Linked DNA regions of Homo sapiens: regions 1 and 3 are each linked to region 2. The links are contacts of gene promoters, found by promoter capture Hi-C in human tissues and cell types (Jung and others, 2019). All regions are on one chromosome and are shown on one strand. The core of a region is centred on a gene start or on the middle of the fragment in contact, and the rest is flanking DNA. Distances in the headings are between cores, read along the strand shown.

Evidence for each region. Contacts are between HindIII fragments. The study calls those that stand out against the background at their distance.
Region 1: a fragment that was not itself captured here is called in contact with the fragment with the promoter of CLDN1 in region 2 in 1 of the 25 tissues and cell types used here (thymus).
Region 3: a contact is called between a fragment that was not itself captured here and the fragment with the promoter of CLDN1 in region 2, in 1 of the 25 tissues and cell types used here (mesenchymal stem cells).

The regions. Positions count from the first base shown.
Region 1 is chr3:189,241,123-189,245,491 of GRCh38, reverse strand. The region is part of intron 4 of TPRG1 (tumor protein p63 regulated 1); the gene reads right to left. Among named protein-coding and RNA genes, the nearest start is that of TPRG1-AS2, 2.7 kb to the right of the region's middle. The HindIII fragment of the contact is 3,005 bases long and covers 992-3,996 here.
Region 2 is chr3:190,320,899-190,325,605 of GRCh38, reverse strand. CLDN1 (claudin 1) reads left to right here and starts at 3,160. Exons shown (of 4, transcript NM_021101.5): 1 at 3,160-3,622. The coding sequence starts at 3,400. It also overlaps a transcript of CLDN16 not described here. RefSeq lists a silencer at 3,010-3,169. The HindIII fragment of the contact is 5,719 bases long and covers 1,278-4,707 here.
Region 3 is chr3:189,256,978-189,261,296 of GRCh38, reverse strand. All of the region lies in intron 4 of TPRG1 (tumor protein p63 regulated 1), which reads right to left. Among named protein-coding and RNA genes, the nearest start is that of TPRG1-AS2, 19 kb to the right of the region's middle. The HindIII fragment of the contact is 8,541 bases long and covers 1-4,319 here.

The sequences.
Region 1 (4,369 bases), core at 1,245-3,744, 1.1 Mb after region 2:
ATTAGCCAATACAACTTACAATGCATCCATGGGTCAAGAGGAAAATCACAAGAAAAATTTAAAAATATCTCTAAATGATAATAGACACACAACATATCAAAATCTCTGGGAAGCAGCAAAAGTAGTACTTAAAAGGAAATTTATAACTGTAGATGTTCATATTAGGAAAGTTTAAAATCAATAACCTTGGGCTGCACTTCAAGAAGTTAAAAAAAGAAAAAGTAAACCCAAAGTAGAAGAAAGGAAATAATAAGGAAAAGAGTAGAAATGAACCGGGCGCAGTGGCTCACACCTGTAATCCCAGTACTTTGAGAGGCCAAGGCAGGCGGATCACCTGAGGTCGAGAGTTCAAGACCAGCCTGACCAACATGGAGAAACTCCATCTCTACTAAAAATACAAAAAATTAGCTGGGCATGGTGGCACCTGCCTGTAATCTCAGCTACTTGGGAGGCTGAGGCAGGAGAATCGCTTGAACTCCGGAGGTGGAGGCTGCGGTGAGCCAAGATCATACCGTTGCACTCCAGCTTGGGCAACAAGAGTGAAACTGCCTCAACAACAAAAAAAGAGAGCAGAGATAGAGATCAACTAATTAGTAATTAGCAAAACAATAGTAAAAGTTAACCAAGTGAAAAGCATGATCTTGTTAAAAACCAACAGAATTGGTATGATCATCAACAGAAGAGAAAAAAGAGGGAAGACACAGATCACTGATATGGTTTGGATCTGTGTCCCCACCAATTCTCATCTTGAATTGTAATCCCCAGTGTTGGAGGTGGGGCCTGATGGAAGATGATTGGATCATGGGGGCCTATTTCTCAGGAATGGTTTAATGCCATCCTCTTGGTACTCTCCTCATGATAGTGAGTGAGTTCTTGTAAGATCTGGTCATTTAAAAGTGTGTAGCATCTCCCCACTTTCTCTCTTGCTCCTGCTCCTACCATGTGAGATGCCTTGTTCCCTTTTTCCTTCTGCCATGATTGGAAACTTCCTGAGGCCTCTCTAGAAACAGAAGTTTCTGTATAGTCTGCAGAACTCTGAACCAATTAAACCTCTTTTTTTTCTTCTTTTTTTGAGATGGAGTCTCATCTCTGTCACCCAGGCTGGAGTGCAGTGGCTCGATCTTGGCTCACTGAAATCTCCACCTCCCAGGTTCAAGCAATTCTCCTGTCTCAGCCTGGGATTACAGGCATGCACCATCATGCCTGGCTAATTTTTGTATTTTTAATAGAAACGGGGTTTCACCATGTTGGCTAGGGTGGTCTCGAACTCCTGACCTCAAGTGATCCATCCACCTTGGCCTCCCAAAGTGCTGGGATTACAGGTGTGAGCCATTGCACACGGCAAACCTCTTTTTTTAATAAATTACCCAGTCGCAGATATTTCTTTATAGCAATGAGAGAACAGAATAATACAGAAAATTGGTACCAGGAATAGGGCATTACTATAAAGATACCTAAAAATATGGAAGCAACTTTGAAATTGGGTAACAGGCAGAGGTTGAATGAGTTTAGAGGGTTCAGAAGAAGACAGGAGGATGAGGAAACGTTTGGAACTTTCTAGAGACTGGCTGAGTGGTTATCACCAAAATGCTGATAGTGATATAGACAGTGAAAGCCAGGCTAATTAAGTCTCAAATGTAAATGAGAAACTTATTTGGAACTGGAGCAAAGGTCACTTTTGTTATGCCTTAGCAAGGAACTTGGCTGCACTGTGCCTCTGCCCTAGGTATCTGTGGAAGTTTCAACTTGAGAGTGATGATTTAGGATTATCTAGTGGAAGAAATTTCTAAGCATCAACACATTCAAGATGTGACCTGGCTGCTTCTAAGAACCTATACTCATACATATGAGCAAAGAAATGACTTAAAGTTGGACTCATGTTTAAAGAAGAAACAGCATAAAAGTTGGAAAATTTGAAGACTGGCCATATGGTAGGAAAAAAAAAAGCCAATTTTCAGGGGAAGAATTCAGGTAGGCTTCAGAAGTTTGCATATATAAAAAGGAGCAAATGCTCATAGCCAGGACAATAGGGAAAACAACTCACAGGCATTTTAGAGACCTCCTTGGGGGGTCCTCCCATCACAGGTCCTGAGGCCTAGGAGGACTAAACCCCCAGTGTTAGAAGTGGGGCCTAATGGGAGGTGATTGGATTATGAGGGCAGATTTAGCAGGAATGGGTATCATCCTCTTTGTATTGTCCTCACAATAGTGAGATCTGGTCACTTAGAAGTATGTAGCACCTACCCCTCTCTCTCTTGCTCCTGCTCCCACTATGCAAGATGCCTCACTCCCCCTTTGTTTTCTGCCATGATTAGAAATTTCCTAAGGCCTCCACAGAAGTGGAATCCATTATGCTTCCTGTATAACCTGCAGAACTATAAGCCAATTAAACTTATTTTCTTTATAAATCACCTGGTCTTAAATATTTCTTTATACCAATGAGAGAATAAATAAAATCACCAATATGAGGAAAGAAAGAAGATATCACTAAATATCTTATGGACATTAAAGGGATTATAAGGAAATATTATTAACAACTTTATGCCTTCAGCTGCAACAACTTAAATAAACAACAAATTCCTTTAAAAATATAATTTATCAAAATTAATATGAAATAAAAAAATTAGTCCTCTTAGGCCTCAGGACCTGTGATGGGAGGGCCTCCTGAGGAGAAAAAATTATGATAAACACAATATTTATAAAAGAAATTAACTTTATTATGAGAATTTCCCACCAAGAAATGATCAGGCCAAGATTTCCCTTATTAACTCTATCAAACAGTCAATGAAAAGATAACTCCACTCATATAAAAAATCTTTTAAAAAATAAAAGAGGAGGGAACATTTTCCAACTTGTTTTATGATGGCAGCATAGCCAAAATATGAAAACCTAGCAAAAACATTTTAAAAAATGAAAATAACAGACTAATACCCCTCATGAACACAGGCACAAAAATTATCCATAAAATATTAGCAAACTAAATCCACTAATGCATAAAAAGAATAATATGTCACAACCAAACATGTTTACCTTAGGAATGAAGAACTGACTTAATATTTGAAAATCTTAATAAAAATAAGACTTTCAAACATTAGACAAGCTGATTAAAAAATAAATATGCATAAATAAAAAACGATTAATAAATGGGGAATAACTCAACCAGATATTGACACATAATATAAGGTTATAATAATTAAAACCATTTTGAGCTTTAAGAGACACAAATGGAATGGAATAGAAAATCCAGGTACAGAAACACACAGAGAAAAGTACTACATTATAAAATAATAAACATAAAATATCAAATATATGATATCGAGAAATCTAGCCTGCCATCTGGATAAAAATTCAAGTTGATTGCATACCTTCTTCTTTACTCAAGGCAAATTTTAGATGAAATATAAGTTCGTTGTTAACAGTAAAATAAAATTACTAGACAAAAACTTGGAAATTTACTTTATAATTATAGTATGGAGAAAGCTTTTCTCAAAAAGACATAAATTTAGAAGCCTTGAAAGAATGAGAAATTTGATACCTGTATTAGTTTGTTTCACACTGCTGATAAAGACATACCCCAAACAGGGAACAAAAAGAGGTTTAATTGGACTTACAGTTTCACATGGATGGGAAGACCTCAGAATCATGGCAGGAAGCAAAAGGCACTTCTTACATGGTGGCAGCAAGAGAAAATGAGCAAGAAGCAAAAGCAGAACCCCGTAATAAACTCATCAAATCTCATGAGACTTATTCATTATCACAAGAATAGCACTGGAAAGACCAGCCCCCATGATTCAATTACCTCTCCATGGGTCCCTCCCACAACATGTGGAAATTCTGGGAGATAGAGTCCAGGTTGATATTTTGGTGGGGACACAACCAAACCATATCAATACCCCAAAACTAAAGGTCATGAAAAATAGCATAATAATGTTAAAAGAGATATGACAAACTGGGAAAAATTTATTTGCAACATATAGGACAGAAAAGGAATTCAGTTCTCTAATACACAAATAGCTCTTACAAATCAATAAGAAAAAAATTAAACATCCCAACAGGAAAAAAAAAATGGGCTATAGTCATAAATAGGCAGTTCACAGAAAAATAAATAATATGGCTTTCTAACCCAAGGATAAAAACACATATCGTTCTTCAAATTCTAGTGATGCAATTTGAACCCCAAATAAGAGACTTTTCTTTACTATCTCACTGGCAATGTAAAAAGGTTTTGTAATACTTGATATTGGTGTGGGTGTGTGGAAAAGATTACCCTGATACTTTGTGAAAGTATTAATTGGTAGCACCTGTTTGGAAGGCAATTTGACAATACTCATCGGTTAAAATTTACATGACTTTGACCTAAAAATTCCAC
Region 2 (4,707 bases), core at 1,911-4,410:
TCTACTTATTATTGGTTCTCAAGATCATGGCTAAGCCCAAGCATCAGTCGCACAAGCACATGGAATAAACCAGTACGCTATTTGCTGTTTTTACACATCTCTTCCTCCTCAACAGCAACAACTTTTTGCCACATGATTCTAAATCCCCAGGGTATAAAACCTCAGTGGGCTGCAACAGATATTAAGAAGAGACAGTCACAGAGTAAAATATCTTGCCACTGCCTGGAGCAAGAAACACATGATAAGTATGTCTAAGCTCTTCCAAAGAAGAAAAAAAAAATTGTCCTCGATTGATTTGGGTCACACAGAGAAATACTGCAGGAGAGCAGTCAAAGGCATGGACACGAGCGTCAAATTATATAGTTTGGAATTCCAGCGCTGCCATATTCAATATGAACTTGGATAAGCAGCCTGACCTCTCTGTGTCTGTTACCTGCACGTAGAGATAGCATATAAAACTCTGACCTCAACACTTGATGAAAATATACAGCAACAAGTGCCAGCTGTCATTACTTAGAGTCATAAAGCTTTAGACTTGGGTGACTTTCAGAAATTAACCCCATCCCTTTTATTGGTAGGGAAACTGAGGAAGAAAAGAAGTAATTTGTCTGAGGGTACATAGCAGATTTTACTACTCAACAGGCTAGGACACTTACCATACCATTGCCAGCCTTTCTAGAGCCTTCTTGGTCTCAGTGCTGCCTTTACTGTTTATGTTTCAGATATGAAAGGCCAGTATTTGGAAGCTGTTTTTCCTCTTAAGTTGATAGATTTATGCTGAGCCATTATCTCACCTGTCCTCTGCACTTAAGCTAGGAGCAGAAAACTAGACAGGATTAAGGATGCCTAGAGATGGGCCTGAATCACAGTGAAGCAAACAGCATTCACCTCAGCCTCACAAACATGGTTGTGGGTAGTGAAGTAATCAGCCTCGCACAGACCTGAAATACAAAACAAAAACACGGGACCCTGCTGACCACAGAACTCATCCCTCCGATTCCCCGCTAATTGTAGGTTGATAGAAACCAGTTGTAATGCAGAGTAAAAGGGCCTGTGCACAAATATATTTACTGAACGCAGAAAATGTCATTTATTTGTTTATTTATTTATTTATTTATTTGTTGAGATGGGGTCTTGGTCTGTTGCCCAGGCTGGAGTGCAGTGGCACGATCTGGGCTCACTGCCACCTCCGCCTCCCGGGTTCAAGCAATTCTCCTACCTCAGCCTCCCAAGTAGCTGGAATTACAGGCGCCCACCACCATGCCCGGCTAATTTTCATATTGTTAGTAGAGACGGGGTTTCACCATGTTGGCCAGGCTGATCTCGAACTCCTGATCTCAAGTGATCCGCCTGCCTCAGCCTCCCAAAGTGTTGGGATTACAGGCGTGAGCCACTGCGCCTGGCCTGAGCCACCGTGCCCGGGTGTTTAATAATACTTTTAATTCTTAAATGTTTGGAACAAAAAAAAGAAGAAAATGAGATTATATGATTCACATGGTACTGCTCTAGTCCTGCAGCAAATTCCAGTGCCTTCTCTGATCAGGGAATTTTTACAAAATCAAATGTGATTGATACATCTTCATCCACACTGACAGGCACCCACAGAACATCCACTGAGACCTAGACAGTAGTACTGACTGCAGGCCCTAACCCTGGGATACAACACGAACATGGTCTTGTCCTAAACAGCTGATAGGAGAAAGACAGTATTCACTGTGTTAATCTCAGTCCAAATTAATTGTCTTCATCTAGCTCCTGTCTTACATTCTTCATTGCTTGTCCCTAAATCCTAGCACGGCCAAGTCCTTTAGTTTTAAGCCTACATGAAAGGCATCCAGGGAGAGCCAGGTGGAAATGAAGGTGGTGGGGCTTGGCCTTTCTTCCCATTCCCACCTTGAGAATTTGCACCTTTCCTTCTCTGTCACCAACTAGCAGTTGCCATGGTATATAAGGGTATATCTTATTTTATCCTTAATATGTTTATTTCTGCTTCCAAGATGCTTCTGTTTTTACTAAAACCATAGAAGCTTCCCCTCCCACCACACTCGCACCACACACAAAAAGCAGTTGGAAAAACATTTCAATGATTCCTAACCACAACAGCACTTCTGACTAACTACAAAGAAGGAAGCTTTGGAGAAACATAGAGGGAAACTACAGTCCCAGCGAGACCGAAACCGGAGGGGTGAGATAGCCAGTCACAGTAAAAGCTGGAACCAGAGCCCAGACTTCCTCAACTCCAGCCCAGTCCTTTTGCCACTGGGGAAACGCTGTTTACATGTCCTCACCTGCGACGAACAACATTTGATAACTCACAAAATTAACACCTTTCAGGGAGAGCGGGGCACTGGCCAGGTCCCTCTGATAATGAATTGCTGCTCTAAGACATAACTGCTGTGGGGAGGAGGTTGGTGTTTGGCGGGGAAGGGCTGCTAGCCTGCAGTTTCATAAGGACAATAATACATCAAAAAGGACAATCATAGATCAAAGGGGATATTTTGGGTCAACTTGATATGTAGTGGAAAGCAGATTGGGAGGGGAGCCAAGTACTGGATATGCTCCGTGCGTGAGTGTGTCTGTGTGTGTGTGTGTGTGTGTGTGTAAATCATGTTGCTCTCTGGGTCTGTTTCCCAATCTGTAGAGTGTAAAAGTCTCTGAGGCTCCTTGCAGAGACAAGTGATGGAACGACCTTGACAGAAGAGAGCAGAGAGAGGAAAGAAGGGGGAGGAAGCCAAGCAAAGGAGAGAGAAATGGTGTGATGGGGGAGGAGACGCGGAGTTGGGTAGAAATGCCTTTTAATAAGATATTGGGAAAAAAGTATTAAACCTAAAACTGCAGCTCTTGAAGGATCATTTTTTCATCTTTGTGTTAGGATTTACAAGTACAGTGCATAGTAATTTTTGGATAATTGGAGTGAATGAATGAAAAGCGTGAAACGCCTTACAGGAGCGAGAAGATCCACGAGAGAAAGCGAGCAGGGACGCAGCTCTGGTGCCTGGTCCTGCCGGGTGGTCCCCACGCCGCCAGCCGCGCGTTCCCCAACCGGGCGCTCCCGGCGCCCTCTCGGTGAGCCGCCCTGAAACCGCCAGGGGGCGCTCCCCGGCTGCCGGGGCTGAGGCGGGCGGAGCTGCTTTAAATCGCGGCGCCCAGCGGTTCTGCGTCTCAGTTCCCGAGCCTGGGAGCAACCGCAGCTTCTAGTATCCAGACTCCAGCGCCGCCCCGGGCGCGGACCCCAACCCCGACCCAGAGCTTCTCCAGCGGCGGCGCAGCGAGCAGGGCTCCCCGCCTTAACTTCCTCCGCGGGGCCCAGCCACCTTCGGGAGTCCGGGTTGCCCACCTGCAAACTCTCCGCCTTCTGCACCTGCCACCCCTGAGCCAGCGCGGGCGCCCGAGCGAGTCATGGCCAACGCGGGGCTGCAGCTGTTGGGCTTCATTCTCGCCTTCCTGGGATGGATCGGCGCCATCGTCAGCACTGCCCTGCCCCAGTGGAGGATTTACTCCTATGCCGGCGACAACATCGTGACCGCCCAGGCCATGTACGAGGGGCTGTGGATGTCCTGCGTGTCGCAGAGCACCGGGCAGATCCAGTGCAAAGTCTTTGACTCCTTGCTGAATCTGAGCAGTGAGTGCACCCCCACCTCACAGCGGCCGTCCAGAGGCCCCAGTCCCCCTGCAGCTCCCTTATGGGCTCATTCTGTTGTGTGATTCCATGGTTATCAGTCTTCAGTTGATCAAGTCTTCTGATCATGTGCTCTGTCATAAGGAAATGAAGAGAATCCTGGTTTGAGGAAAGCGACGCCCAGGCATAAGCTCTAGTTTTGCCTCTAACTCCCTGGGTGACACTTCTGCCACTCTAGGTGTGGCTTCATCCTAAATTCCTATGCTGGTGGTTCGAGTTGAGGGAGTGAAGGCCAAACTTGAACTTGAGCTCTTAGACCTCTCCTAGGCATTCCGAGATTTGGGGTAAATTGAGGATTGGTAGAGTTCAGACAAGAAAATGGGATGACTGAAAAAGTTTGAAGCCTGGTAACTTCTCAAGTGTGCACGCTTAAATAAATAATCCTCAAGTATTAGATATAACTTTTTAACCTTTAATATGATTTTTTCATAGTAAAAGTTACATTCCTACTGGAAATGTCCTATCTAAGTGTCTTCTGCTTATGCTTGAGGTTGATTCTTTTAATTTATAAGATCCAGTTAGTGCAGGGAGGCCCCTTGCAAGACTCTTTGGAGAAGCTGCTTGAGATTCCCCCGAAGTTTTAATTTTCAGACCCAAGGTCTTCTGTAGAGGCTGACGGTGTAGTGCTATCTTGGAAAGAGAAGGTTGGTGGCAGGTGGGGAAAGGCTGACAAGAAAGGTTCTAAATAACCTGCGCAACATAATACAAAGAAAAAAGTAAAGGCACTGAAGGGAAATGCAGCAAAATAGTCATAGCTGATGAAATCAGAGGTCAGCTGGGAGTGGAAGGCAGTGAGAGAGAAAGAAGAGGTGGGTCTTCCTTAGGTTTCCATCTTCCACAAAGAAATTTCTGTGTAATGGATGTTCAGTGACCCCCTGTAAAACTGGAAAGGATTGTATAGAGAGACATATTTCTAAGGATGGTGGGAAGAAGGATAATAGGATAATTGTTTTACTTTGTTTTTTAAATTAAAGGTTTCGAGTTCCTTGTCCGAAAAGTCATTAAATTCCCATTTACTTAGATAATAA
Region 3 (4,319 bases), core at 281-2,780, 1.1 Mb after region 2:
GATCATTTCTTCTTAATTAAAAGTTAGCCAGATTCTTTTGGAGCACTCAATTTTCTGGTCAGGTCAACAAAAAAGTAATGAACATCACACACACCTCCCTCCCCTGTCTTCCTAGCCCCATTCCTGGAGTTATGCAACCCTTGGGGGCGGCATACACTTCAGCTATTTGCTCTGTGTTCATAATTAGATTGTCTAGACAGGAGATGTTGCTGGAGCAATAGGAAAATATTTTACAAGATGTTCCGCAGAACCACACTTATAACAGTGATTAGGACACACTGACAGACGCGAAGCCAGCAGAATTGGCCCGGGCCACGAGCCGGTTTCACCCAGAGCAGAAGCCCTTTCAAGCTCTCATTTCAGGAAGAGGTGCCAAATTAGAGCTCTGAGGGCATGGAGCAGCAACTTCTTGGCCTTTGGATCCGAGAAAGCAAGGTTGAGATAATAGAATGATGTCTGCGATGCCCTCCTTCCTCCCTCCACCTGCTGACACTAAGTCAACAGGAGGCAGATGGTAGTTGCTGCTTTCACCAGCATCTCTCCAAAAGGATGTGTAAAGGCCAAAGAAAGCAGTTTCCTGGACCTGGCTTCTGCAGCATGGCCTATCCCTTCTATGTTGCAGAATGCAAATTTAAATAGCATGGAGAGATACATGTGCGATGCCTTCTCTTGCAGGGAGATATTTCTTGGCCTGACCTCCCTGCTTAGCTTTTGTTGGCATATCAATGTGACAGCAACAATATTTTCCAGCAGAAAACCTCTTTAGAGATATTTTTTCACAGGAGGAATTGATAAGGTAAAATCATTTAGCCCTCTAAGATGAATGGCTTTTGGAAAATTGCTACACTAATATAGTACTACAAGGGTATAGGATTCAATACAAAGAAAAATTAGAGATTTTAGAAATTTAGCAAGAGGAGATTCAGCAAGGGGAGGGGACTTATATCAGGAAAATGTATCAGGACCCAGGTCCCTGAATCCTAAACCAAGGTCTTTCTACCAAAACTATTAAAGATGCTTGCGTAATTCAAATGCTTACTATATACCAAATGTTCTTCTAAGCATTTTACCCATATTATCTCATGGAACCCTCAACACAGACCAATAAGAGAGATACTATTATCCAACCCTCCCCTCCTCCCTCCAGTTTACAAATGGGAAGACCGACGCATGGATTGTTAAGTAACTTGCTCCAGGTCACCCAGAGGGAAATCTGGATTGACTCCCTGTCAGCCCGACTTCAGAACAAGGTCTTTAAGCCTTAAACTGTCTATATTCTATCTCCTCATTAGAGTTCAGATGAGAATATGGGGAAAGAAATGGGGCTTAGTGACCATCAAAAATTACAATGCATTTGAGAACAAGTAAGAATTAGGCACATGACAAAGGCAGAGGAGGAGGTGAAATCAGAGAATTTCATGTTTCAGATGCTACCATCATCTGTTTCCACGATTGCATACAAGTCACTCAACCACTCAGAATTGCAGTTCCTTCACTGTTGTTTCTTATGGGCATAAAAAACAAATAGGCCAGACATGGTGGTTTGCACCTATAATCCCAGCAGTCTGGGAGGCCCAGGCGGGTGGATCACTTGAGATCAGGAGTTTGAGACCAGCCTGGCCAACGTGCTGAAACCCCGTCTCTACCAAAAATACAAAAAATTATCAGGGTGTGGTGGCAGACACCTGTAATCCCAGCTACTTGGGAGGCTGAGGCAGGAGAGTCACTTGAACCCAGGAGGTGGGGGTTGGTTGCAGTGAGCCGAGATCACACTACTGCATTCCAGCCTGGGCAACAGAGCAAGACTTCGTAAAAAAAAAAAAAAAAAAAAAAAGGGATTCCTGGGCAAGATGGCTGAACAGGAATAGCTCCAGCCTGCAGCTCCCAGCAAGATCAACACAGAAGGGGTGATTTCTGCATTTCCAACTGAGGTACCCAGTTCATCTCATTGGGACTGATTAGACAGTGGGTACAGCCCACAGAGGGCAAGCAGAAGCAGGGTGGGGTGTCGCCTCACCTGGGAAGCCCAAGGGGTCAGGGAACTCCCTCCCCTAGCCAAGGGAAGCCATGAAGGACTGTGCCATGAGGGATGGTGCATTCTGGCCTAGACACTACGCTTTCCCCACGATCTTCACAACCCACAGACCAGGAGATTCTCTCAGGTGCCTACACCACCAGAGCCCTGGGTTTCAAGCACAAAACTGGGAGGCCATCTGGGCAGACACCAAGCTAGCTGCAGGAGTTTTTTTCATACCCCATTGGTCCCTGGAACACAGCAAGACAGAACTGTTCACTCTAGAAAGAGGGCTGAAGCCAGGGAGCCAAGTGGTCTTCCTCAGTGGATCCCACCCGCATGGAGCCCAGCAAGCTAAGATCCACTGGCTTGAAATTCTCGCTGCCAACACAGCAGTCTGAAGTCGACCTGGGACACTGAGCTTGGTTGGGGGAGGGGCGTCCACCATTACTAAGGCTTGAGTAGGCAGTTTTCCCCTCACAGTGTAAACAAAGCCACTGGGAAGTTCGGACTGGATGGAGCCCACTGCAGCGCCGCAAAACTGCTGTAGCCAGACTGCCTCTCTAGATTCCTCCTCTCTGGGCAGGGCATCTCCGAAAGAAAGGCAGCAGCCCCAATCAGGGGCTTATAGATAAATCTTTCATCTGCCTGGGACAGAGCACCTGGGGGAAGGGGCGGCTGTGGGCACAGTTTCAGCAGACTTGAACATTCCTGCCTGCCAGCTCTGACGAGAGCAGCATATCTCCCAGCACAGTGCTTGAGCTCTGCCAAGGGACACACTGCCTCCTCAAGTCAGTCCCTGACCCCCATGCCTCCTGATGGGGAGACACGTCCAGCAGGGGTCAACAGACACCTCAAACACAAGAGCTCTGGCTAGCATCTGGTTGGTGCCTCTCTGGGACAAAGCTTCCAGAGGAAGGAGCAGGCAGCAATCTTAGCTGTTCTGCACCCTCTGCTGGTGATACCCAGGCAAACAGGGTCTGGAGTGGACCCCCAGCAAACTCCAGGAGACTTGCAGAAGAGGGGCCTGACTTAGAAGGAAAACTAACAAACAGGAAAGAGTAACATCAATATAAAAAAAAAAAGGATGACCACACAAAAACTCCATCTGAAGGTCACCAACAGCAAAGACCAAAGGTAAATAAATCCATGAAGATGAGGAAAAACCAGCACAAAAAGGCTGAAAATTTCAAAAACCAGAATGCCTCTTCTCCTCCAAAGGATCACAACTCCTCAACAGCGAGGGAACAAAACTGGACTGAGAATGAGTTTGACTAATTGACAGAAGTAGGCTTCAGAAGGTAGGCAATAACAAACTCCTCCGAGCTAAAGGAGCATGTTCTAACCCAATGCAAAGAAGCTAAGAACCTTGATAAAAGGCTACAGGAACTGCTAACTAGACTAACCAGTTTATAGAATATAAATGACCTGATGGAGCTGAGAAACATAGCACGAGAACCTTGTGAAGCATACACAAGTATCAATAGCCAAATTGAGCAGAAGAAAGGATATCAGAGATTGAAGATCAACTTAATGAAATAAAGTGTAAAGACAAGATTAGAGAAAAAAGGATGAAAAGAAATGAACAAAGCCTCCAAGAAATATGGGACTATGTGAAAAGACCAAATCTACATTTGATTGGTATACATGAAAGTGACAGGAATAATGAAACTAAGTTGAAAAACATACTTCAGGATATTATCCTAAAGAACTTCCCCAACCTAGCAAGACAGGCCAACAGTCAAATTCAGGAAATACAGAGAACACCACAGAGATACTCCTCGAGAAGCGCAACCCCAACACACATAATCATCAGATTCACCAAGGTTGAAATGAAGGAAAAATTGTTAAGGGCAGACAGAGAGAAAGGTCAGATTACCCACAAAGGGAAGCCCATCAGACTAACAGCGGCTCTCTCTGCAGAGACCCTACAAGCCAGAAGAGAGTGGGGACCAACATTCAACATTCTTAAAGAAAAGAATTTTCAACCCAGAATTTCATATCCAGCCAAACTAAGCTTCTTAAGTAAAGGAGAAATAAAATCCTTTACAGACAAGCAAATGCTGAGAGATTTTGTCACCACTAGAACTGCCTTACAAGAGCTCCTGAAGGAAGCACTAAATATGGAAAGGAAAAACTGGTAGCAGCTACTGCAAAACCAAACCAAAATGTAAAGACCATTGACACTATGAAGAAACTGCATCAACTAATGGGCAAAATAACCAGCTAGCATTATAATGACAGGATCAAATTCACACATAACAATATTAACCTTAAATGTAAAAAGTCTAAATTCTCCAATTAA